Regions from separate parts of the Homo sapiens genome. Here regions 2 and 3 are each linked to region 1. Evidence: promoter capture Hi-C in human tissues and cell types (Jung and others, 2019). All regions are on one chromosome and are shown on one strand. Each heading gives the region's core, a stretch centred on a gene start or on the middle of the fragment in contact. The rest is flanking DNA. Distances are from core to core; before and after follow the strand shown. Region 1 holds the start of CTSL (cathepsin L). Region 2 overlaps LOC105376134 (a long non-coding RNA gene). Region 3 holds the start of SPIN1 (spindlin 1).

What was found. The method cuts DNA at HindIII sites, captures the fragments that hold promoters and counts their contacts. A contact is called where the count stands out against the background at its distance.
Region 2: a contact is called between a fragment that was not itself captured here and the fragment with the promoter of CTSL in region 1, in 1 of the 25 tissues and cell types used here (aorta).
Region 3: a contact is called between the fragment with the promoter of SPIN1 here and the fragment with the promoter of CTSL in region 1, in 1 of the 25 tissues and cell types used here (dorsolateral prefrontal cortex).

The regions. Positions count from the first base shown.
Region 1 is chr9:87,724,294-87,728,019 of GRCh38, forward strand. CTSL (cathepsin L) reads left to right here and starts at 1,826. Exons shown (of 8, transcript NM_001912.5): 1 at 1,826-2,105; 2 at 3,301-3,436. The coding sequence starts at 3,311. RefSeq lists promoters at 32-1,899, 250-1,871, 354-1,899, 366-1,798, 568-1,899 and 7 more, cis regulatory regions at 815-817, 883-885, 1,042-1,229, 1,227-1,234, 1,306-1,456 and 12 more and an enhancer at 1,617-2,138. The HindIII fragment of the contact is 7,957 bases long and covers 1-3,726 here.
Region 2 is chr9:88,525,892-88,529,617 of GRCh38, forward strand. It overlaps LOC105376134 (a long non-coding RNA gene), which reads right to left. Exons shown (of 2, transcript XR_007061653.1): 2 at 2,069-2,873. Among named protein-coding and RNA genes, the nearest start is that of NXNL2, 7.4 kb to the right of the region's middle. The HindIII fragment of the contact is 4,513 bases long and covers 1-3,726 here.
Region 3 is chr9:88,386,654-88,390,379 of GRCh38, forward strand. It overlaps SPIN1 (spindlin 1), which reads left to right and starts at 1,791. Exons shown (of 6, transcript NM_006717.3): 1 at 1,791-1,885. It overlaps LOC124902204 (a long non-coding RNA gene), which reads right to left and starts at 2,546. Exons shown (of 2, transcript XR_007061652.1): 1 at 2,459-2,546; 2 at 1-1,464. RefSeq lists an enhancer at 607-1,466 and a silencer at 1,544-2,443. The HindIII fragment of the contact is 12,466 bases long and covers 1-3,726 here.

The DNA.
Region 1 (3,726 bases), core at 576-3,075:
TTATTAGCAACAGAAAAGAGACTAGGACAGATATCACAGTTAGATTGTATTCTACACATTGTGACTGGTTCTCCAGAGAAGCAATGCATAAAAAGAGGAATAATCGGCCGGGCACGGTGGCTCACACCTGTAATTCCAGCACTCTGGGAGGCCAAGGCAGGCGAATCACGAGGTCAGGAGTTCAAGACCAGTCTGGTCAATATGGTGAAACCCCATCTCTACTAAAAATACAAAAATTAGCCAGGCGTGGTGGTGCGCGCCTGTAGTCCCAGCTCCTCTGGAGGCTGAGGCAGAGGAATCACTTGAACCCAGGAGGCAGACATTGCAGTGAGCTGCGATTGCGCCACTGCACTCCAGCCTGAACAACAGAGCCAGACTCCGTCTCAAAAAAAAAAAAAGAGGAATAATCTCCAAAATAGTAAACAAATTCCTGCAGACAGGAAATATAATGGTAGATACCTGAGCTAGGAGAGGGGGAATGGGGAACTATTATTCAATGGATACAGTTTCAGTTTAGGAAGATAAACAAGCTCTGGGAATAAACAGTAGTAATGGTTACACAATGTGAAGGTACTTAATGCTACTGAACTCAAAGTTGGTTAAAATGGTACTTGCTATGTGAGGTATATTTTACCACTTAAAAAACTATAGGTGATTGTGCTTCTAAAAGAGTTATCAGTTTAATCTTCAATAGAAATCAATGGACTTTGTTCATTTTTAACAAAGTCAAAATATGCATACGAAAAGGTTATGGGGTAAAGGCAGAGGTAATTATTTTTTTCCCCGAAAGGTATTTTCTACAATGAATGTTTTTATGTAATAAAAAATGAAATGACAAAAGTTTAGAATGTTTGTGGGTTTTGTTCCTTAAATCCTTAATTACATAAATTAATATCTACATTATACAGATTAAGATACATATTTTTCCTCTATCTACAACATTTCTCCATTCTCTGTATCTTAAATCCTGACATTAAATGTCATTAAATTTCTTAAATCTCAAGAGAACGACTTGGTTACCAAGGAAGATATAATCCATAGCCTAGAGAGTGGGCGAATAAAAGCAGCTTCTAATGTTCTCAACTGCTTTTCTCCTGTCAACCAAATGTTTCTGTAAATAACTCATTTCTGTTGGTTTTGGGTAAGACGTGGGAGAAGGAAGAATCCCTGAATGGAGGAGTCTGGAAAGGATGCTTGACAAAACGCCCGCGCTCTCTGGAGACGCAGCCAGTCTCCTCCCTCCTAGGGTCTGGTCTTGACGATAGCATCTCGTGTTTTGGGGATGCCTTTCCTTACCAGATTCTTCTAAAGCCCAGCTGCACCCACCCTTAAGTGGGAGATAAGGCTTCTGCCCGCGGGCTCTGCGTTCGTCCACCCGGCCCCACGTTTGCTGTGGACTAAACAGGAGCCACTGGACTAGAGTACACTTGACTCTCGGCTCTGCGGACCAAAAATTCCAGGACTAAGGAATAGCAAGGTTAGGCTGAAACAGTCCACACAGGGCTTGCGGTAAACGTCTTTTCAGGAGCCACTCGCCCAGTGCAGTAAGTCGTGTACTTAGTTGACTCGAGCGCTCCAGGGAGACGCCCGACCCTACTCTGCGCCGCCCCGGGGCACCAGCTCTGCTTCCTCCAGGTCCACTGAGGCAGGCACGCCCAGCTCTGGGACAGTCAGTAAACAAGCCACGAACCGCGCCAGGGATCAGAGCACCCAGAGTCCCCGCCCAGCTGCCGGCACAGCCAATCGCAGCGCAGCCAGGCGGCGGGGCGGTGCCGGCCGAACCCAGACCCGAGGTTTTAGAAGCAGAGTCAGGCGAAGCTGGGCCAGAACCGCGACCTCCGCAACCTTGAGCGGCATCCGTGGAGTGCGCCTGCGCAGCTACGACCGCAGCAGGAAAGCGCCGCCGGCCAGGCCCAGCTGTGGCCGGACAGGGACTGGAAGAGAGGACGCGGTCGAGTAGGTGTGCACCAGCCCTGGCAACGAGAGCGTCTACCCCGAACTCTGCTGGCCTTGAGGTGGGGAAGCCGGGGAGGGCAGTTGAGGACCCCGCGGAGGCGCGTGACTGGTTGAGCGGGCAGGCCAGCCTCCGAGCCGGGTGGACACAGGTACCGCAGCCAGGCCGCGCCGCGCCGACTCAGGGCCTGGCCCGGCCAGACAGGGAAGCTCAGTCCCCGCACGCCAGACAGCGGTACTCCTGCTGGCGTCACCGCAAACATCCTCTGACCGCTACAGCCAGTGTGTGGCGCAGGCGTCATGTCCCCGGCCCTGCCACGCCTGGAGCCCTGGAAGCTGGCTGCAGGGCGCTGGCTTCCCGCGTGCGGCCATATGACCCCGTCCCTGATTTAGGGGAGCAGTTTGGGGTGTCGGCAGCACAGGCCCAAGTGAATGAAGGAGGGAGCAGTGCGTGCTCTCCTTCCCAGTTTTTCCTGGGAAAGCATTTCAGAAAGGTTTCATTTAAGGAGAGGTTGGGGCGGCGCGGTGGCTCACTCCTGTAATCCCAGCACTTTGGGAGGCTGAGGTGGGCGGATCACCTGAGGTCAGTAGTTCGAGACCAGCCTGGCCAACATGGTGAAACCCCGTCTCTACTGAAAATACAAAATTAGACGGGCGAGGCGGCGCACGCCTGTAGTTCCAGCTATTCAAGAGGCTGAGGAAGAATGGCTTGAACCCGGGAGGCAGAGGTTGCTGTGAGCCGATATCGCGCCGTTGAACTCCAGCCTGGGCCACAGAGCAAGACTCCATCTCAAAAAATAAATAAATAAATAAATAAATAAATAAATAAATAAATAGGAGAGATTGGAAAACTTATCTCAGCTTTTGGTGTTTGTTAGTCAGGAAGATGTGTGAAGGCCTCCTAACTCTTGGGGATCTCTTTGTCCCTACTTGGGAATCCCACCTTATCATTAGTGAGGTTTTGCCTGGGCACGAAACCTGGATTTTTTGCGATTGGTACAAAACCTGGATCAACCGTTTCCCGGTTTCCTAGTTGTTGCCTTAAGCTTCTCACACACAAGGTAGTTTCATACCGTTCTCATAACCTAAATTGTCATCGCATAAACTGTTTCAGCTCCTACAGCTCTGGACAGGCTGCTTTTCATTTTGGTGAGTCCATCCAGTACCTCCACGTGCCCTGTTTTTCTCCAGGCACATCCTTGGCCTCTTCCACAGTCCTTGGGTAAATGCTTGGGAGAATAATTTAAATATTTTTATTCTACCATGGTGGCCCTAATTTTTCAGGGGGCAGTAAGATGGCTTTTTAGGATTGGTCTAATCAGATCCTCATTTTTGTTCCCTTCCTAGGTTTTAAAACATGAATCCTACACTCATCCTTGCTGCCTTTTGCCTGGGAATTGCCTCAGCTACTCTAACATTTGATCACAGTTTAGAGGCACAGTGGACCAAGTGGAAGGCGATGCACAACAGATTATACGGCATGGTTAGTGAAACTTCCCCAGAAAGAATAGTCCTGGCTGTTGAGAAGTTTTAGTCAGAGAGTAGCTTCTAGAGGCCAGCTTTTACCAATAGCCTAATGTAATAACCTAATGGCGTGGATTATGAGCACAATGTGGACATTCATCCTTGTTGTGTCTCAGTTTGGAGAACAGCATCCCCAGAGGTGTCAAGCCTTCCCTTGCCATGGTTTCTCTTCCATCTCTGTCTGCAGATTCACTTGGTGAGGATGAGTTGGGTTTTAGGTAGAAGTAAAGAGCATCAGTTACATGTTTG
Region 2 (3,726 bases), core at 748-3,247, 800 kb after region 1:
TTTTTTTTTTTTGCGATGGAGTCTTGCTCTGTCACCAGGCTAGAATGCAGTAGTGCAATCTTGGCTCACTGCAACCTCTGCCTCCCGGGTTCAAGCGATTCTTCTGCCTCAGCCTCCCAAGTAGCTGGGATTGCAGGTGCACACCACCATGCCCAGCTAATTTTTGTATTTTTAGTAGAGACGAGGTTTCACCATGTTGGCCAGGATGGTCTCAATCTCCTGACCTTGTGATCCACCTGCCTTGGCCTCCCAAAGTGCTGGGATTATAGGCATGAGCCACCGCGCCCAGGCAGAGAGTGGGTGATTTTAATGTGACAAGTTATGTTTGCAGAGCAGACAGTCATGGCTTGTTCCCTCTGCATTTCCACCCTTCCTTGTGTTACCAAGAGTCCTGCCAATTGAACCTCTTGTCCCCATACAGTCTGTTCTGTCGTGCCCTACCTGGGCCGTGGGGTTTATCTCCTAGGAAACCCCCATAGGGGTTTGACCAGCTCCTGCTTCCTGGGCAACAGTGTGCCCAGCCCTAGAACTTGACAGTGGGGTCGGCTGTCTGCACCCAGTGACAGCCACCCTCATGGTGGCCCAACTGAGAAGCTCACTCTTCCCTCTCCCAACCTGCTGTGGCCCCGCTCCTGCCACCTCTTTCAAGGACCAGCCTCCTTACAAAGTCTTTCCCAGTCCTGCCCCTTGAAGAAACTCTCCTTCCTCCACACCTCTATTATGGGTTGTGCATCCCCCACAAAGATGAGCCATTCTGAAGTCCTAACTCTCAGGACCTCAAAATGTGACCTTATTTGGAAACAGGATCCTTGCAGATGTAATAGTTAAAGTTAGGTCACATTGGAGCAGGGTGGGCCGCTGACCCAATGTGACTGTGTTCTTATAAAAAGGAGACCGGTGAAGACCTAGGATTGGAGTGACACAGCCACAAGCCAAGGAACTCCAAAGATTGCTGCAGCCACCAGAAGCCAGGAAGAGGCAAGCAAGGACTTCCTAAGGTTTCAGAGGGAGCACGGCCCTGCACCACGCTGATGTCAGACTTCTGGCCTCTGGAACTATGAGATAGCCCATTTCTGTTGTTTGGAGCCACCCAGGTTGTCTTTGTTACAGCAGCCCTGAGGAACTAACCCAACCTCCATCCAGGAATGGATTGTATTTCCTGCTGCCAATGCTGGAGCAGGGTGGCTTCGTGGCCATGCAGCCCCTCAGAGGCACAGGGCCCTGCACTTGGGGTTTAGTGCTCTGTGATTGCTGTCTTGACATTCTTAATTATTTTATCAGGCTGGGCACGGTGGCTCATGCCTCTAATCCCAGCACTTTAGGAGGCCGAGGGGGGCGGATCACTTGAGGTCAGGAGTTTGAGACCAGCCTGGCCAGCATGGAGAAACCCCATCTCTACTAAAAATACAAAAAATTAGCCAGGTGTGGTGGTGGACACCTGTAGCCCCAGCTGTTTGGGAGGCTGAGGCAGGAGAATCACTTGAACCTGGAAGGTGGAAGTTGCAGTGAGCCAAGATTGCGCCACTGCACTCTAGCCTGGGTGACAGAGTGAGACTCTTGTCTCCAAAACAAAACAAAACAAAACAAAACAAAAAAAACTTTATTTTATCTTTGAATTTGTGTGGTGTAAGTGAGGCCTCATTGGACAGTGGAGCATACGTGAGCACTTGGAGCCTGCCTCATGTGTGCTCCCATCTGCTGCTGGTCCGCCACCTCTCCCAGGCACATTATTGACTGCTCGTCTCCCTCCCTTTGGTGTCCTGGGCCCCACATGGCCTCCCCATCCCCACCCTCACCCAGCAACCGCTGGTGCCCTCCATGGTCTGCGGGAACCTGAGTGTGTATGTGTGGAGGGGTGTGGGGTTGACATCAGATGCTTTTACTACACTACCCGTGGCATCTCAGGGTGGGCGTGGCCATGCAAGCAGCTGGTGGACTGTGTACCCACCAAGTCACTCGGCAGGGCCCCTGGGCAAGTGTGACAGTTGACACTCACCCTGTCCCAAGAAAGCATGATATTCAGTAGCAAATAAAAACACCATGATAGGTCAAAAGAGAGACCATGGAAGAAAGGGAAAAGCTTTCGTTTATTTTAGTTCCTTTGCTGGCCCATTCTTTTCCTGCTTTTTGAACAAGGGGCTCTGCATTTTTATTTTGCACTGGGCCTTTCAAATTTTGTGGCTGGCCCTGGTTGGGAGCTGCAAAGTGATGCTCCAACTTAGAAACGAGACACGGGATCCATCAGCTATGATACAAGATGAATTCCTGGTGGATTGGAACTCGGGCAAGCAGCCTCATGAAGAAACAAGGTATGCATGATGCTATTAGCAGGCAAGGGCCCTGGTCAGCTGAGACGGTCCTGCTTCCTCTGGATAGGGTATCCTGGCCACTGGAATATTTAAAACTAGGAAATTCAGAAAGTTATATTTGCACACTGGGATGTCTAATTTGTTTGTTATGCTGATCAGTGCAAAAAATCTTTTCCATAATTGTATTTGAATATTCATAAGTGTTGCTAGAAGAAAAAGTCAATTTCATGTCAAACCACCAAGGATCACATTTTCTTCACATGCTGCTCTTTTGCCAGGGAGAAGTGATTCAATGTATGTTGACAAAAAGCAGGACTGAGAAGAGCAGAACTGGTCCAAGAACTTATGAAATACCCACATTCAGGGAGACTTTCTCTAAGGAGAAACATCCCTCTTCAGAAGTCTGGGGAGCTTGCATACTGAGTAGAAAGGCAGAGCCGTACCTCCCTGGAGAGTCTCTGAAGACCTCATCTGCCCAGCCATCCAGCGTGAGCTCTGGAAACCTTCTGCCTTTTAGTCTATGTCAAGACTAGAAGCCAAGCAAGGTGTCACAGCCCTTCATAACTGTTAATGAGAAATAGAACTGAACACTATCCAAGGCAAAAAGACAGACTCTGTTGAGCACTACTGCAAAAGGAAAGCGCCGAGCACAATTCCCAACACAAGGACAAGTGGGGATTTACAGCCCAGGAACAGGGTGGAGGTGGGGGGTTGGCAGATGGAAAACAGAGGGGACCTTGACGGTAGGGGGGTATCTTGCTAAACTAACTTAACAGGACACCTGCTGCAGGCAGGCCAGGATGATTGGATACTAAAGGCAGAAGAGGACTTAACAGGATTCTTTGCTAAGACTGGCTCAGGCAGGCTGAGCACGGGGTCCAAGGATGAGGCCTAGCTGAAAAAAGTGCCGGAGGAGTCTGTCTGAAGTTGGTCAAGCAGTGAGTTATTATCGTGCTCTCGGGAGGAAATGCAGAAAGGACTACCCTTAAATCAGGGGCAGCGGGGAGGGGAGAGGGGCTCAGGGAGGGAGGGCAGGCCTGAGGGTGCCTTCACTGGGGTCTCTCCGGCCAGCATCTGGAGTGGGACTCACTGCCCAGTTTCCCTGTGGTTGTCCAAGGCAAGTAAAGCTGCTTACAGATGCCCACACTCATGTCACCTTTAGATGCCCTGGAAGGAAGTTTGGTATGAAAGTGGCTTTGCATATCCCAGCTAGGAAAGTAGGGGCCACCTAATCCTGTTTCCAGGACTGCATTTGTGAGTGTTCCTGTGTGTGTTGTGCAGAGAGAAACATGAAGGAGAACTTGGCTCCAGCAGCGGTGGGAGAATGCAGGGCTTCATGCTGCATCCTGTGGCACCTGCAGCCCACTCCCTCCCCAGGGAGAGGTCAGGGGGACAGCATTTGGAGGCAAATGACACA
Region 3 (3,726 bases), core at 541-3,040, 660 kb after region 1:
ACACTGCTGAGGTGGAGAAACCCAGGGATCTCGCCAATGAGATGAAATCTTCCAACCAGCAGACTTCTTGGCACCTACCTTCTTCCCATCCCTCTTTGTTTCGGAGATGACCCCACTGCAAGACATTAAACAGGCCAGGCGCGGTGGCTCACGCCTGTAATCCTAGCACTTCAGGAGGCCGAGGCCAGCGGATTGCTGGAGGCCAGGAGTTTGAGACCGGCCTGGCCAACATGGCGAAACCCCGTCTCTACTAAAAATATTTTTAAAAATTAGCTGGACATGGTGGTGCGCGCCTGTAATCCCAGCTACTCGGGAGGCTGAAATGTGAGGATTGCTTGAACCCAGGAAGCGGAGGTTGCAGTGGGCCGAGATCATGCCACTGCACTGCAGCCTGGGGAACAGAGTGAGACTCCGTCTAAAAAAACAAAAAAGACATTAAACACACAAATGAAAGTGAGTAATTTCTCAACACTTGGTAACTTGTAAGTACAGCGATACACTTTTATATCTCAGTTTTGAAATTAGCTCTCTAGTTGGCCTGTGAACGTCCCATGCCTGCCAAGTGTGTCATCTGAGACAAGCACTTCAATTTGTTTGAGCAGGCATCTATCAATCTTATTTGTTAGAAAAGGTGCCAGTGAAACCCCAAAGAGTATTGCTAACTAATAACTGTGCTGCAGTTTAGAGTGTTCAAGGTGCTTTCCAGTAACATGTTCTGGAATTTGATCTGACAACGCTTTGGGAGGCGGTTTATTACGATGAGGCTGCGCTGTCGCACTCGAGGAACCAGGTCAGTGACCTGCTCCAGGACACGGGACTGGCGGGGAGGGGAGAGCGCCTGGACTCAGCCTCCAAGTCTCGCACTCGACTCTGCAGGAGTAAAAACTATTCTTGATCCTACCTCTCTCCCTTCTGCAAACAAGCAACAAAATGCTGAAAAGGCATCTTAACTGAAACGGAAGTCAAATGAATTCGCGTGCGATCATGGGAATTTTTGGCTCCTAACCTTGCGAGTAGAGCTGGGTGAGTTCCATTTGTGGTGGGGGAGTGGAAACAGGTTTCTGGGCTTGCAGAAGCCACATCCCGTCCCCACACAACCTAGGACAGGCCAGGTACTTGTAGGTGAGGCTCCGGGGCTCCAGCTAACCTGAGCTACCTGGGCTGGGCTTTGTGCGGGGAGGCAGCAAGCGGGGTGAGCCGGCGACGACGCCGGCCTCTACGCAGTGCGGTGGTGAAGACGTCTCTTCCAGGGAGTCACAGGAAGCAAATCCATCCTTTTAAAGGGCTCGCGTCCCGCGGCCCTGAACCGGCGCGCTGGAGCAGTAATGCGACGTTCTCCGAGGTTCAAGGCTCACGGCCCAGCCCTGTGATCCAGTTTCCTCAGTCTTCGCGGTGTGCACCACTCAGGACGACTTGCGGCTTACGTCCAGGACAAAGGGGGCTTGTCCTTTCTTCAACGTCCTACTGCGCAAAAACGAAGCCCTTCTCAGGCTGCCTGCCTTCCAGGAAAAGCTGCGCCCCCTCAGGAACCTGTGCCCCGCGCGCCTGCCGCCGCCCATTCCCGGCGCGCACCTGGCAGTCCCGGGCTCGAGCCCCGCCCTGCCGCCAGCCAGGTGAGAGGGGCCAGGCCCCGCCCTCGCCGGCCCCGCCCCGCCCCACTGCGCCTGCGCAGTCGGCCGTCGGCGCCAGGCGCCGGGGCGGCGCGGCCGTCGCAGTTCGGCGGGCGCAGTGCGCGTGCGCCCTGACTGTTGGGGGGCGGGCGGCGTCCGCGGCGAGGGAGCGGGGGCGGGGAGGCGCCGTCTGGCTCAGGCTGGGGCCGGCGGGAGCGCGAACGAGCGACGGCGGAACCCGTGGGCCTGTGGACTGCAGCCTCGGCGGTCAGCAGGTGAGGCCCGCGCAGGGCGGGCGTGGGTCGTGAGGGAGTGCGGGCTGCGGGCGGGCCAGCGGTGCGGCGGTCTGCCCGGGGGCGCAGGTGAGCGCGGCCCGCGCGGGGCCCGGCGGAGCATTGTCCAGCGGGCGGCGCCCGCATAGCGCCCCCTGCCGGCTGGGCCGCGGCGGGGACCCGGGCTGGGCGGGCCTGGGCCTCGGGGCGGGCGCGCGCTCCTTTGTTCGCCGGCCCCTACTCCTCCGTGCCCCCATCCCCGCCGCCCCCCGCCAACATGGCCGCCACCCTCTCGTCCCCAGTTCCCCGGCCGCCGCCGGCCCCTTAGCGCGCGCTTTGTTTGGAGCCGGGCGGGGAGGCCGGCGGGCAGGGGGCGGCGGCGCTGCGCAGTCGGGCGCGGGGAGGGGGCGCTGCGCCAGAATGCAGGCGGGGAGGGGGAACGTTGCATAATCCCGGGCCGGCGACGGGGGCGGGGCGGGGGGAGGGGCGGGACCCCGGCGCGACGGGTCGGGTCACCCCGGGGACGCGGGCCTGCCCTGGGGCCACCCCTCCCAGGCCCGGGGGATGGCCGCGGACCTTGTAAGTTGCAGGCTCCGCGGTTCGCGGCGCCGGAACGCCCACCGGCCAGTCCTCGCGCCCGCGCAGCCCCTTTCCTGATGCGCCGTCTCTTCGCCGCCCTCCGTGGGGGCGCGGCGAACGGGTTGCGTGCTCTGGAGAGAGACAGGCACTTTTCCTCTCCATCGTGAGTGACCTTGGGTGTATTCGTCAAGGAATGTGTTGAAACGAATTGTGCGATGCGGGAACTGCGCAGCGCCTCGGGTTTGGCTTTCTCGAGCATTTTATTGCATTGATTGTGCGTTCTCGATTTTACAGAGGTTCGTTTTGAGTAATGGCTTCAGTAATGTCATCGTATACGCATTTCAAAGTTTGTTTATGGAATTGTTTTTACATTTATTCTCTTTTTACTTATAATTTTTGAATCAGATTTTGTGTTTTGGAGAGATTTTCCGTACGTGGTGGAAGTGTTTTCACTCATGGTAAATATGGATTGTTTGGCAATTTTATCACGTTAATCACAAAACAATACCAGGAACATTTAAATGTCTTAAAGGATTTCACTCTACATGACTTGTGCCAGAGACGACACACGTACCAAAACGCGATTACCTGTCTTAACTTTTTTTCTATTGGAATTTTCTGGAAGGAATTCCATGCAATCCGAAAGGATTAATGGAGGGTACAGTAATTGCTTTCTACATCGCTTTTGTTAAGCAGTGAAAATTAAACTTGGAGATTTATACCTGGATATACTGAGTTTTTTTTAACACTCTTTTGAAGTGAAATTTTGGAAAGGGCAGGTGAAATGAGGCTTCTTCCAACCTCCCCACTCTCCCCCCTCAGCTTTAGTTAAAAGGCAAACACCAAAATATTGTAGTACCTGGTAATTTACAGAACGTTCGTTATCAGATTTGATAATTATATATTAAGGTTGTAAAGAATGTGTATGCCAGAATTATAGGTAGTAGATCCTAGATTCTTAGGAAAAATAGTTTCTTTATAATCTTTTGAGTAGTGAAATGGTTACTTTTACAATGGTTATGAACTGGGTCAAGGCAAAAGGGCCACTATATGTCTTCAGTCATCTTTCTATGCCTGAAATCCAGGAAACAGTGAAAATGGATGTTCCCTGGAACAGCCATTGCGATGCCATATGTTGGTCATTGGTGTCCTTAAAGTGTATCTCAGATAATTGTGTGTCTCCCTTACTTGTGAACTGAGGGGTCACAATATTGATGTGCCTGATGTGTGCCCCTCTGCATTTCGTGGGTAGTGTCTCAAATTTG